4 separate regions of the Homo sapiens genome follow, and regions 1, 3 and 4 are each linked to region 2. The links are contacts of gene promoters, found by promoter capture Hi-C in blood cells and fetal thymus (Javierre and others, 2016). All regions are on one chromosome and are shown on one strand. The core of a region is centred on a gene start or on the middle of the fragment in contact, and the rest is flanking DNA. Distances in the headings are between cores, read along the strand shown.

The links. Contacts are between HindIII fragments. The CHiCAGO score rates a contact against its expected background, and 5 or more counts as called.
Region 1: a fragment that was not itself captured here is called in contact with the fragment with the promoter of SLURP1 in region 2 in 1 of 17 cell types (naive CD8 T cells); the score reaches 5.2 in naive CD8 T cells.
Region 3: a contact is called between a fragment that was not itself captured here and the fragment with the promoter of SLURP1 in region 2, in 1 of 17 cell types (naive CD8 T cells). The highest score is 5.9, in naive CD8 T cells.
Region 4: a fragment that was not itself captured here is called in contact with the fragment with the promoter of SLURP1 in region 2 in 2 of 17 cell types (naive CD8 T cells and total CD4 T cells); the score reaches 5.6 in naive CD8 T cells.

Annotation. Positions count from the first base shown.
Region 1 is chr8:143,128,844-143,131,962 of GRCh38, reverse strand. No RefSeq gene overlaps it. Among named protein-coding and RNA genes, the nearest start is that of LY6H, 30 kb to the left of the region's middle. The HindIII fragment of the contact is 2,885 bases long and covers 1-2,706 here.
Region 2 is chr8:142,740,750-142,744,236 of GRCh38, reverse strand. It overlaps SLURP1 (secreted LY6/PLAUR domain containing 1), which reads left to right and starts at 1,831. Exons shown (of 3, transcript NM_020427.3): 1 at 1,831-1,909; 2 at 2,315-2,434; 3 at 2,961-3,288. The coding sequence starts at 1,852. The coding sequence ends at 3,094. The HindIII fragment of the contact is 7,810 bases long and covers 1-3,487 here.
Region 3 is chr8:143,147,556-143,150,808 of GRCh38, reverse strand. No RefSeq gene overlaps it. Among named protein-coding and RNA genes, the nearest start is that of LY6H, 11 kb to the left of the region's middle. The HindIII fragment of the contact is 1,177 bases long and covers 1,116-2,292 here.
Region 4 is chr8:143,003,767-143,007,301 of GRCh38, reverse strand. The region is part of intron 1 of LY6E-DT (LY6E divergent transcript); the gene reads left to right. Among named protein-coding and RNA genes, the nearest start is that of LY6E-DT, 13 kb to the left of the region's middle. The HindIII fragment of the contact is 2,196 bases long and covers 448-2,643 here.

The sequences.
Region 1 (3,119 bases), core at 15-2,514, 390 kb before region 2:
AGCGTTCTCTAACTCAGCCTTCGCAGGGGCTCTGCAGACTGGAGCTAAGGTGGGTTGTGAGAAGTGGTGGCAGGTGCAGCCCAGGAGAGCCTTGCAAACAGCTGCCTTAGATGACCGGGTCTCGAGAGCTGTGTCAGACAGCGTGGGGTTGGTTTTCTGGGCCTCCATCGCCTGCTCTTTGGCTGGGGCATGAAGAAGCTAAACGGTGGTTTCTTCCTTGGCCAGGAAAGGAGGACACACTGTTAGGTTTTTCAGTTTCCTAACAGTTGTCCAAAGAGAATCAGAACTGCCAGTGGGAAGAGGAATATTTAAGGGGAATAATCCCGGCTCTGATTATCCACGCATAGGGAGGATAATCCAGTCCAGCCGGCTCAGGGGCTCAGGTGGGTTCCATCACGGTCTTTGTTCACCCATGAGAACGCGGCTGAGGGAGCAGGGGGCCTCATTCCGGGCACATGCGGCCCACACAGCTGTCCTTTTACATTGGTGGCACTCAGGCTGCGGGAGAACAGCGATGGGTTGAGGGGCCGTTGTCAGCACTGCTCCCTCAGGACTCAGGCTACTGCCCGGCCCCGACCTGGCCTCTGACCTCTACAGCATCAGATGCCAGGGATGAGAGTGTTCAGTAGCCCCTCCTGGGTGAGGAAGGATGCACACTGGCCCAGGGCTGGGGACGGGTGTCCGATTTCCATCGATTCCCGTATGAGTGGCCTTTACAGCCTCCCGGGCCTGTGTCTGGATCCTGGAAGAGGTCGCCCTCTGCTGTCCCTACTCAGGATAACAAGCCTCCTGCTCTTCATGATGAGCGTGCAGGGACACTGTTTCTGCCGCACTCAGGGCCCCAAGACCAAATTCTAAAATCTCCCCAAACCTTCAGCAGGGTGGGGCCAACCCTCATGAGACCAATGCATCTGTTTCTGCCTGGAGATCGCTGGGGCTGGTTCACACTTGGCACGTTCGGACTCGCAGATCAAGCTCTGAGGCAGGGAGGAGGCAGCAATGCCCCCTCCACATGCAGGCAGCGCCTGGCAGGTCCGGGGTCACCCCAGAGTGGAGGCCAGGCTCCTGGGCATTCCCCACCCTGGGATCCCTGCACTGTTCTCATCTGTCCTCCGAGAGGGGCAGACGGCAGCGACGGCTGGAGGCCGCACTCATGGGCACTGCAGACTTAGAGAAGCCAAAGTGCGTTTTATGCTGAGCCAAGAGTGAGTGGCAACCCGGAACACAGGTTCCATCGGCTGAGGAGGCAGGAGGGGTGGTTCCACAGCCTGAGAGGGGCAGTGCGCTCAGGGGGACCTCGCAGTCCTGCCTGGCCTCGGTGCCTTGTACACAGGTGGAGTGGACACGTGGCTGGCACACAGGGTGGAAAGCTGGCACCTACTGGAGCCTCAGGGTCTGCAGGGGCGACTGTTCTGTCCTGCCTCATCTGACAGGCACGGCAGTGACCAGGACACGTCAGTGAGACAATGCAGATTCCAGCCTCATAGGCCAGGCCTGCCTCCTACTACCCGTGTGGCCAAACTGCAGCCATCTTGGTCCACTTTTGAAAATGTTTCTTTCGGATCTTTCTGGCTGGTGCCTCTGCTGCGGAATAGCAGCTCCAGTGGGTTACCTGTCAGGAGCGCCCCTGGAGGTGCAGCTTCCCTCGTGCTCTGAATTACTCAGGTGAAGTCAGCAGGAATCCGATTCCCATCTCTGGGAAAAGCACCTCTGGCTTCTTTATCATCAGCCTTTACTTGGCCCCAGGTCTGGGAGAGGTGGCAAGAGTATTACCCTCTTGCTCTAGGGCCATCACGGAAGGAGCCACTTGCACCCCTGCAGGATCACGGGACCCTGTGGGTATCCCCCTGCCTGCAGGAGCCCCCCATTTCCACGGTTCCTGTTGGATCCCCCACTGCAGCTCTGCCTTCGAGCAGGCACCCGGCACAGCCCTGTGGTGCTGTGTCTCGGCCTGCTGCTGCCACAGGACTCGCCGGTGAGGAGCCACGGGGCAGCCCTCCTGCTGGCCACATTTGCAGGAAGTCCCGCCATGGGGTCCAGTCATGACCAGTCTAATGTCCCTTCTGGAGCCTGTGCCGCCCACTTTAGTGCTTGGGCATGGGGTCCTGGGACCACTGGCTCAGGCAGAAGAAGAGAAACCTTTGGGAGGTGGGGAAGGTACAGAGGGTCCAATTGCACCCCCCACACGCCCTCCTCCTTCCCCCAGCCCTGAAGCCTGTGAGCGGCCTGCCTGCCTTCCCCTCAGGCTCAGTCTGAAGACACCCCAGTTAAGCGACTCCACCAACTGGTCACGTTTCTCACACCTGCCTGAATAACCTGTCTTCCAGTGGCCCATTGCAATTTTCAGCATGGCCACAGCTGGACGGGACGAGCAGTGTGGTGCACACGTATGCTTGCCGTGTTTCCTGGACCGTCTCAGTGTCCTGGTGCCAGCAAGAGTGGGTACCTGGATCAGAAGAAGTAGGTCCAAGTCGGCTGAAATTGACAGAGGACTCACCATTCTAAACACCTCATGCTGTTCCCAAGGTTGCTTCTGTTACAAATAAGCCAAGTCCAGAATAGAGTGTCGTGAGAGCGTGAGATACAGCTTAGCTCCTTCCTGGAATCTCTGGAGTGACAAGAGTCTCTTTTGTAGTGAGTGTGATGAAGTTTGGGTTGATCATCAATAGCCAACGATGCAATCAATCATGTATATGTAATGAAGCTTCCATAAAAACCCAAAAGGAGCTTTCAACAGTTGGACGCACGCAGGTGCCTGGAGGACGGCGCCCAGGAGGGCACAGGAGCTCTGCCATTCTCCCCTGTGCCTTGCAAAACCCAAGGAACTTCCCATCTCCAATGCGCGGATGTTGGGTGGAGGCCTGGGGCTGTCTGGAAGCTGCACATGTACGTGCCTGTCTCCTCCACCCCCCGTGCCTCCGCACCTTCGTCACAGCCTGTGTCATAAATGGGTAAACGCAGGGCGGCGTGTCCCTGAGTCCTGTGAACCACTCCAGCAATTCATCAAACCGGAGGAGGGGGTTGTGGGAACCCTGATTCATGGCAGTTCCGTCAGAAGCCACACCCGGGGCTTGCAACTGGCATCAGAAGTGGGGCCCCTTGCACGGGACTGAGCCCTC
Region 2 (3,487 bases), core at 582-3,081:
TCCATCCATCCCCCACCCATCCTCTATTCATCCCCTACCCATCCACCCATACATCCTCCACCCATTTCCTATCCATCCCCCATCCATCCACCCATCCATCCATCTATCCATCTACCCATCCAGCCATCTATCCATCCCCCACTCATCCTCCACTCATCCCCCACCCATCCACCCATACATCCTCCACCCATTCCCCATCCATCCCTCATCCATTCCATATTCATCCCCCACTCATCCATCCACCCATCCATCCACCCATCCATCCATCTATCCATCCATCCCCCACCCATCCTTCATTCATCCCTGACCCATCCACCCATACATCCTCCACCCATTTCCCATCCATCTCCCACCATCCACCCATCCATCCCATATTCATCCCCCACTCATCAGCTACCCATCCATCCACCCATCCATCCATCCACCCAACCATCCCCAACCCATCCTCCATTCATCCCCCACCCATCCACCCATCCATCCTCCACCCATTTCCCATCCATCCCCCATCCATCCAACCATCCATCCCCCATCCATCCCATATTCATCCCCCACTCATCCATCTACCCATCCATCCACCCATCCATCCATCCATCCACCTATCCATCCATCTATGCATCCATCCCCCACCCATCCTCCATTCATCCCCAACTTATCCACCCATACATCCTTCACCCATTTCCTATCCATCTCTTACCATCCATCCATCCATCCCATATTCATCCCCCACTAATCCATCTACCCATCCATCCACCCATCCACTCATGCATCCACCCATCCATCTCCCATTCATTTACCCATCCATCCCCCACCCATCTATCCATCCATCCCCTATCCATCGCCTATTCATCCCCCATTCATCCATCCCCCATCCATCCATCCATCAACTCATCCATCTATACAACCACCCATTGGGACATCACAGGACAGAGAAACCAGAGAGGCTGGTATACCTGGAAGGACTGTGGAGAGGGGCACCTTAGTGGGTCTCACAGCATGGGGAAGATGTGGGACATCAGATGGGAGACCAGGCAATGTGGTCATTGAGCGGTATGGCATAGGCAGGCATGCGTGTGGAACAGGGTGTCGTGGGGGGCACGCAGTAAAGAGCAGACAACACAGTCAGGCCAGGAGGCTGGAGGGTGAGCAGAACCTTATTGTCAGGCGCCTAAAATCAAGAAACTCAGGTTTGGTCTAAAGGCCATTAGTGGGAAGGGGCTGGCAGTGATGAGGGGCCACTCCTGGGCCCAACCTTGTCAGCCTGAGAGTGGTCTAGCTGGCCCATGCTACCCTCACCTGACACCTGCTTCCTACCTCTGGTTTCTACTTTGCAGGTGTGTATCAGGTGTACACAGACCAGGTAGAGGTCTGTGGAGAGGGCTGCAGGCCAGGCTGCAGGGAAGGGGTGCCAGGCGGGGCTAGAGCAACAAGGGCAGAGGCTACACTGAACCTGGGTCTTAAGGGTCCCCCAGGCTGGGGCTGGGTGGCCTATGTGAACCCCAGAGGCACAGCCAGGACATGGGGGCTCATCAGAGGGGCAGTCTGAGCTCAGCAGGAAAGGCCTTCTCTGTCAGAGCTGTCCCAGGACCACTGGACATGGCTGAGGAACAGTGAGTTCCCCAGTGTTGGAGGTGTGCAAGCAGAGGCCTGGCCATCGTCCTCAGACAGAGCTCCCAGATCCAGCTCCCTGCCCGTCTGCCATGTTCCTGCCAGCTGCCTCCCCACTGGGCCCTTTACCACGTTCCTGACTCACACGGCCGGTTCTGCCACCGCCCAGAAGCCGGTGCCCAAGGGCCTGGGTATAAATCCTTGATGTGAGGCTGGCTACCTCTCATCACTTCTGAGCACGGAGCAATGGCCTCTCGCTGGGCTGTGCAGCTGCTGCTCGTGGCAGCCTGGAGCATGGGCTGTGGTGAGTGGGCCGCAGGCTGGTGGGGACCCTGCCTCTGAGCTTGTCTGCCCACCTCCTAGGGGGATGGGGCTGTTGGGGGTGCTTTGTGGCTGAGAGCCTCCTTAGGCCTCCATGAGGCTCACCCTCCTCATTCTCAGTGAGCCTCCTGGGTCCCAGAGCCCAGCTTCACCCTGGGACAGGGGTCACGGCTCCACTCTGCAGGAAGGGAGACTGAGGCTTGGTGGAGGGATGCAGCATTCAAGTCTGTGGCTCAGCTCAGTTAGAGAAAGCTGCCAGAGAGGCCCCTTGAAGGGCTGCCCGGGGCCTTGAAAGATGTCAGCGAGACTCCTTCAGCCCCTGCCTCCTGGTTCCAGGATGAGGCCACCGAGGTCAGGTGATGAGGTTCTGCCCCCATCCCTCACCCAGGTGAGGCCCTCAAGTGCTACACCTGCAAGGAGCCCATGACCAGTGCTTCCTGCAGGACCATTACCCGCTGCAAGCCAGAGGACACAGCCTGCATGACCACGCTGGTGACGGTGGAGGCAGGTGAGGCCAGGCCCCACGGCAGCCCTGGGTGCACTGGAGTCAGGGCCACCTCCCCCAAGTGCCTCCCTCCTTTGCTGGTGCTCCTCCCGGCCCAAAAGGCAGCAGGTGGGATGGGCAGAACAGGCTGCCACACCTTGGCAGGGGTGCCTTCCACGAGGGTGGCACAGCCCCCTCAGAGACCCAGTCCTGGGGCACCAGGCGCTGGAGGTGGGTGGGGCTTAATGGCCGGGGTACCCTGGGGGGCTCAAACCCCAGCTCTGACACAGACCCACTGGGTGGTGTTGCCACAGCCTCTGGGCTCGGGCTCCCATCTCAGCGCAGGCACTTCAGAGGTCTGACAAGGCCTAATAATTCATGAACAGGTCACAGTCAGAGGAGGGCTGGGCCCTGGGTGGCTTCACAGATGTGGACTATTGGGAACAGGGATCACAGGGAGGGTGAGGTCAGGCGACGGCGGCTGGGAGCAGTGCAGCAGCAGGCAGGCGCTGCAGGGGAGTGAGGGTTCTGACACTGGCCCACCCTGCAGAGTACCCCTTCAACCAGAGCCCCGTGGTGACCCGCTCCTGCTCCAGCTCCTGTGTGGCCACCGACCCCGACAGCATCGGGGCCGCCCACCTGATCTTCTGCTGCTTCCGAGACCTCTGCAACTCGGAACTCTGAACCCAGGGCGGCAGGGCGGAAGGTGCTCCTCAGGCACCTCCTCTCTGACGGGGCCTGGCTCCACCTGTGATCACCTCCCCCTGCTTCCTGCTGCTGTGGCACAGCTCACTCATGGGGTCTGAGGGGAGAGAAGCACACCAGGGGCGCCCTCTGCCTTCCATACCCCACGCTTATAAAACATAACTAAGCCAAGAGTGGACATGACTTTTGTCCTTCCTGGGCACTGACACCCTACAGAACTGGCCTTCAGGAGAGCCAGGCTGAAGGACAGCACATTCTAGGCACCTGCTCCTCCCTCTCACCCAGAGCCTCTGTGACCCATTTCACAGATAGGAAAACAGAGACTTAGGGGAAGAAATGCCTCCTGGGCCCCTTTCCTGATGCAAACTAGCC
Region 3 (3,253 bases), core at 455-2,954, 410 kb before region 2:
ATCTGACCGGTTTCCTGTGTACCCGTTCAGGATGTCTTTATACAAGGACAAGAAAGTCCTTTACAGCTGAGGTCGTTTACTCTTTCTGCCTCTCAGTGCAGCCTGGAGATCTTTCTGTGATGGCGCAGAGCCAGCTCCCCACTCCGTTCTTAACAGCAGCATCGCACAGCACACATACTCCTGTGTCTGCTTATTTATTTATTTAGAGACAGAGTCTTACTCTGTCGCCCAGGCTGGAGTGCAGTGGTGTCATCTTGGCTCATTGCAACCTCTGCCTCCTGGGTTCAAGAGATTCTTGTACCTCAGCCTCCCAAGTAGCTGGGATTACAGGTGTGTGCCACCATGCCTGGCTAATTTTTGTATCTTTAGTAGAGATGGGGTTTCACCATGTTGGTCAGGCTGATCTCCAACTCCCGACCTCAAGTGATCTGCTGGCCTTGGCCTCCCAAAGTGCTGGGATTACATGCGTGAACCACCGCGCCTGGCCTGTTTCTGCATATTTAGATGGTCTCACTCATGCTCCAGTTACAAGGCTGTAATGCATAGCCTCAGACATGTCAGCTAGCTGCTGCGTGTGGGGACACATCTCCAGAGTCAGTCTTGCTGGGCCTGTAACTGATGAGTGAGCATGGTTGTCCTGGGGCTGCACACTTTCACACTTCCAGTAGCGATGCCTGAGACCACAGCTTCTCTGTTGCCGTTGGACTTCCGTGAGTCTGGTCAGCAATGAAAGACGGCATTGCAGCTGTGTTCTGAATTTTGGAAGTTGGACCACAGGTATGGGGACCTGGAGGCGCCGTCACCCTTGGCTCCTGGCACGTGCCCCTTATTGGTTCGTGCATGCCCGTCTTCTCGTTCTGGGCATTTTGATTTCTTTGTCTTTTGTTGGGGGGTGTGTGGGGATGGTTTCCATTTCTCTGGCCTCTCTGCTCATAACCTCGGTCCCTTTGCTGTGGGATGGTTGGTCTCCTTACTCTTTTCTGGGAACTTTCTGCATAGCTGGGAAATAAGCCCTTCATTTATAATAAGAGTGACACACATTTCCCCCTTTATTTTGCTTATGGTGTTTTGTGAGTTTTTTTTTCTTTTTTCTTTTTTTTTGCCACATGGAAGCTTCTTTTCCTTGAATTTTTATGGAGACACTATTACCATTATTTCTTACAGCTTCAGGATTTGAGTCATAGAAAAATCTTCCCTCCTCCGATGCTTAAAGGGAACCTCTCCTGCTTTCTTCTCAGGCGGAGCAGGGCTGGCGATTACCCAGCGCCCGATGGAGGAACCCAGTTGGAAGCTGCGTGGTGCCCAGGCCTGGGGCTCACCCCTGCACTTCGAGGCCCCGTGTGTGCTGGGGCTGTGCTGGCACTGTGGGCTGGGGGATTCAGGGCCGGGCAGCATAGGGGTGCTGTTTTCCCACACCCAGCCTCCAGTGAGTCCTCCCTCCACTGAGGGCAGGAACCTGTGGCCCCTGCAGCCTAGGGGCCTGTGGACCACGCCTCACCCCCAGGGGGTCCCAGGCCCACCACCCCTGCTCCCTGTGTTTCCTGCAGGGATGCAGAACATGCTGACTCAGACCTAAGCTCACAGGTGCAGGGGACGTCTCCCATCCCCAGAAGGGCACACGAGGGTGGTTCCTGGAATCGCCTCTCCCTGGCGTCTGTCCCTCTGCCCTGGAGCATTTCTGAGGCCCTCCCTGTGCTGTCCCATCCTGGGTGCCCGGGAGTCCCAGGCCTGGTCTTCTGTCCCCTCACTGGGCAGGGAAGGCCTGCACACGTGGGTGGCCGGTGGCCCCTGCTCCTCCTGGGCTCTGCGGTCCCCCCTTATGCTCCGGCCCCCGTGAGCCCCTTCCCACTGTAAGGCTCTAGCCCCACCTGGTGGGTGTGGGTGAACTGGAGGGGAGGGGGCTAAATGTGTTCATTGATTGACTCCACCCGGTGGCTCATTCTCTCTTGTGTTGGTTTCTGCACCTGTCCATGCTTGCTGACGTGAGTTTGAAATGCATCTGTCCGTGCCCCCTCGGCACAGCTAAGACACGCAGAGAGGAGCAGATCAGAACCAAGAGGCCCAGAGCGGGAGACAGGGGCTGCAGAGCTGGGATGGGGGCACCTGCTGCTCCCTGCAGTCTTGATGCCTGAGCTGCGGGGCTCACTCCCCTCCCATGTGGGCTTTTACCAGCGAGGCCTGTGCCCCAGGTCCTGAGCGTGGGAGGGTGTGTCAGGTGGTCATTTCTAGCAGTGAACGTTATTAGGGGACAGAGAGGACAGTGACGAACAAAACCTGGTGGCCCAAGAAGCTTGAATCCAGGAGGACCAGGCCGGCCTTAATGCCTTTGAGCCCCAGCTATGGGCTCAGGTCTGGGATCCTAGAAAGGCTGGCCAGCTGTAGTCTGCAGCCCATGATGGGGGTGGGTGCCCATCTGGGAGGTCCTGGTGGGATGCAGGAGGTGAGGCCTGACGGGCATGGGGTGGATGGAGGCGCCCAGGAGGCCCAGGACCTGGCCTGGGGAGGGCGGGCCTGGGCCACCCAGCGAGGGCATAGGTGAGTTATGGGTGGGGCAGGGCCCCCCGATGCTGACTGGGCTGAGGTGGGCACCGCAGGATACTGGGGTGGGGGCGTCCTGGAGAACTGGAAGGTGGGAGTGGCTGAGAGTCAGGCCCTCAAGGAACAGGAGAGTCTGGGGCTGGGGGCCTCCCCCGGCCCCTCGCCTGACAGTGGCCCTCCTGGCTGAAGCTCCAGAATCCCCCGGCTAGAGCAGAGCCTCTCTGCCCTCCCCACCACTGTCCTCAAGTTCCCCTAATGTCACGGGGGCTCCTTCTCTCGGCACTGGGGGCTGGCTGGAAGCAGCCATGCATCACTGGCTCAGCAATGGAGAACCAGAGGCTCTGGGAAAACCGCTGAGTGTCCAGCTGGGAAATCTCTGGGTGGGTGAGAGAGGGTTTTGAGGCAGCGGTGAGGCCAGGTCCCAGACTTCCCTGGCCCATGGCGGTGCTCGGAGCAGCGTGGCTTGGCTGTGGGTGCTGGGGCTGGGTTCGCACTCTTCCTCCCCAGGCCACTGACCCTGGCCTTCCCTCCCCTGTCCCCACACTCCCAGGTGAGATGGGTGTGGCTCTTTGGAGCAGGGATCCCGGAATTCAGGTCTGTCCAGCCAGCCCCTCAGCAGATGATCGGTAATTTTGTTAAATGAATGAATAAAGTAAAAAGAAATGGTGAGGGATAAAGAATGATCATTGAATCTGCCATAAATCATGAATTCATG
Region 4 (3,535 bases), core at 296-2,795, 260 kb before region 2:
TGGAGACAAAAGAACTTTGAAAAGGAATGAACAAAACCTCCAGGAAATATGGGATTCTGTAATCCAAATCTGTGACTCATTGGTGTCCCTGAAAGAGATGGGGAGAGTGTAAGCAACTTGGAAGACAGATTTCAGGATATCATCCATGAAAACTTCCCCAGCCTAGCTAGAGAGGCTGCCATCCAAATCCAGGAAACTCAGAGTAAGATACTCTATGAGAAGATCATCCCCAAGACACATAATCATGAAATTCTTCAAGGTCGAAATGAAAGGAAAAAAGTTAAAGGCAGCCAGAGAGAAAGGCCAGGTCACCTACAAAGGAACACCTATCAGACTAAGAGCAGACCTCTCAGTAGAAACCCTACAAGCCAGAAGAGATTGGGGGCCAATATTCAACATTCCTAAAGAAATTCCAACCCAGAATTTCATATCTGGCCAAACTAAGCTTCATAAGTGAAGGAGAAATAAGATCCTTTTCAGACAAGTAAATGCTGAGGGAATTTGTCACCACCAGACCTGCCTCACAAGAACTCCTGAAGGCAGCACTAAATATGGAAAAGAAAGACTGTTACCAGCCACTACAAAAACATACCAAAGTACACAGACCAGTTGCACTATAAAGCAACCACACAAACAAATCTGCATAATAATCAGCTAACATGATGACAGGAGCAAATCCACATATATCAATACTAACCTTGCATGTAAATGGGCTAAATGCCCCAATTAAAAGGCACAGAGTTGCATGCTGGATAAAGAACCAATACCCATCGGTATGTTGTCTTCAAGAGATCCATTTCACATGCAGTGACATCCATAGGCTCAAATAAAAGGATGGAGAAAAATCTACCAAGCAAATGGAAAACAACAAATCAGGGGTTGCAATCCTAACTTCAGACAAAACAGACATTAAGCCGACAAAGATCAAAAAAGACAAAGATGGGCATTACATAATGGTAAAACGTTCAATTCAACAAGAAGACCTAACTATCCTAAATATATATGCACCCAACATAGGAGCACCCACATTTATAAAGCAAGTTCTTAAAGACCTTCAAAGAGACTTAGACTCTCACACAATAATAGTGGGAGACTTTAACACCCCACTGACAGTATTAGACAGATCATTAAGGCAGAAAATTCACAAAAAAATTCAGGAGCTGAACTCAGCACTGGAACAAATGGACCTGATAGACACCTACAGAACTCTCCACCCCGAAACAACAGAATATGCATTCTTCTCATTGCCACATGACACATACTCTAAGATAGATCACATGATTGAACAAAAAACACTCCTCAGCAAATACAAAAGAACTGAAATCATAACAACCAATTTCTCAGACCACAGCACAACCAAATTAGAAATCAAGACTAAGAAATTCACTCAAAATCATGCAATTATATGGAAATTGAATAACCTGCCCCTGATTGACTTTTGCGTAGATGATGAAATTAAGTCAGAAATCAAGACGTTCTTTCAAACTAATAAGAACAAAGATACAGCATACCAGAATCTCTGGGACACAGCTAAGTCAGTGTTAAGGGGAAATTTATAGCACTAAAGGCCCACATCAAAAAGTTAGAAAGATCTCAATTTAACAACCGAACATCACAACTAAAAGAACTGGAGAACCAAGAGAAAACCAGCCCCAAAGCTAGCAGAAGACAAGAAGTAGCCAAAATCAGAGCAGAACCGAAGGAGACTGAGACGTGAAAACCATTCAAAAGATCAACAAATCCAGAAGTTGGTTTTTTGAAAAAGTTAATACAATAGATAGACCACTAGCTAGACTAATACAGAAGAAAAGCGAAGATCCAAATAAACACGATCAGAGATGACAAAGGAGATATTACCAGTGGCCCCACAGAAATATAAATAACCACCAGAGAATATTATGAACACCTCTATGCACATAAACTAGAAAATCCAGAAAAAATGGGTAAATTCCTGGACATATACACCCTCTCAAGACTGAGCCAGGGCCAGGCATGGTAGCTCATGCCTGTAATCCCAGCACTTTAGGAGGCCAAGGTGGGTGGATCACTTGAGATCACGAGTTTGAGACCAGCCTGGCCAACATAGTGAAACCCCATCTCCACTAAAATATACAAATTAGCTGGGCATGGTGGTACATGCCTGTAATCCCAGCTACTCAGGAGGCTGAGGCAGGAGAATTGCTTGAACCTGGGAGGCAGAGGTTGCAGTGAGCCAAGATTGCACCACTGCACTCCTGCCTGGGAGACAGAGCAAGACTCTGTCTCAAAAACAAACAAAAAACAAAAAACTGAGCCAGGAAGAAATGGAATCCCTGAACACACCAATAATGAGCTCTGAAATTGAATCAGTAATGAATAGCTTACCAATCAAAAAAAGCCCAGGTCCAGATGGAGTCTCAGCTGAAGTATATCAGATGTAAAAGGAGAACTGGTACCATTGTTGCTGAAATGATTCCAAAAAAATTGAGGAGGAGAGACTCCTCTCTAACTCATTCTATGAAGCCACCATCATTCTGATACCAAAACCTGGCAGAGACACAGCAACAACAACAAAAACTTCAGGCCAATATCCTCGATGAACATCGACACAAAAACCCTCAACAAAAGACTGGCAAATGGAATCCAGCAGCACATCATCAAGCTTATCCACTATGATCAAGTAGGCTTTATCCCTGGCATGCAAGGTTGGTTCAACATACACAAATCAACACATGTGATTCATCACATAAACAGAACTAAAGACAAAAACCATACAATTATCTCAATAGAGTCAGAGAAAGCTTTTTATAAAATTCAATACCGCTTAATGTTAAAAACTCTCAATAAACTAGATATTGAAGGAACATACCTCAAAATAATAAGAGGCATCTCTGACAAACCCACAGCCAACATCATACTGAATGGCCAAAAGCTGGAAGTATTCCCCTGGAAAACCAGCATGAGATAGGAATTCTCTCTCTCACCATTCCGGTTCAACGTAGTATTGGAAGTCCCAGCCAGAGCAATCGGGCAAGAGAAATAAATAAAAGGCATCTTGTCCAGGCATGTGGCTCACTCCTATAATCCCAGCACTTTGAGAGGCTAAGGCAGGTGGATTGCTTTGGGCTCAGGAGTTTGAGATCAGCCTGGGTAACACAGTGAGACCTCGTCTCTACAAAAAAAAAAAAAAAAAAAAAAGCAAAAAATTAGCTGGGCATGGTGGCTTGCATCTGTAGTCCCAGCTCCTCAGGAGGCTGAATCAGGAGGATCACTTGAGCCCAGGAAGTGGAGGTTGCAGTGAGCTGAGATTGCATCACTACACTCCAGCCTGGGTGACAGAGTGTCTCAAAAAAAAAAAAAAAAAAAATTAAAAAGGCATCCAAATAGGAAGAGAGGAAGCCAAACTATCCCTGTTTGCAGACAAATGATCCTATATCTAGAAAACCCCATAGTCTTGGCCCAAAACTCCTTAAGCTGATAAACAACTTCAGCAAAGTCTCAGGATACAAAGTAAGTTTGCAAAAATCACTAGCATTCCTATACACCAACAAGAGTC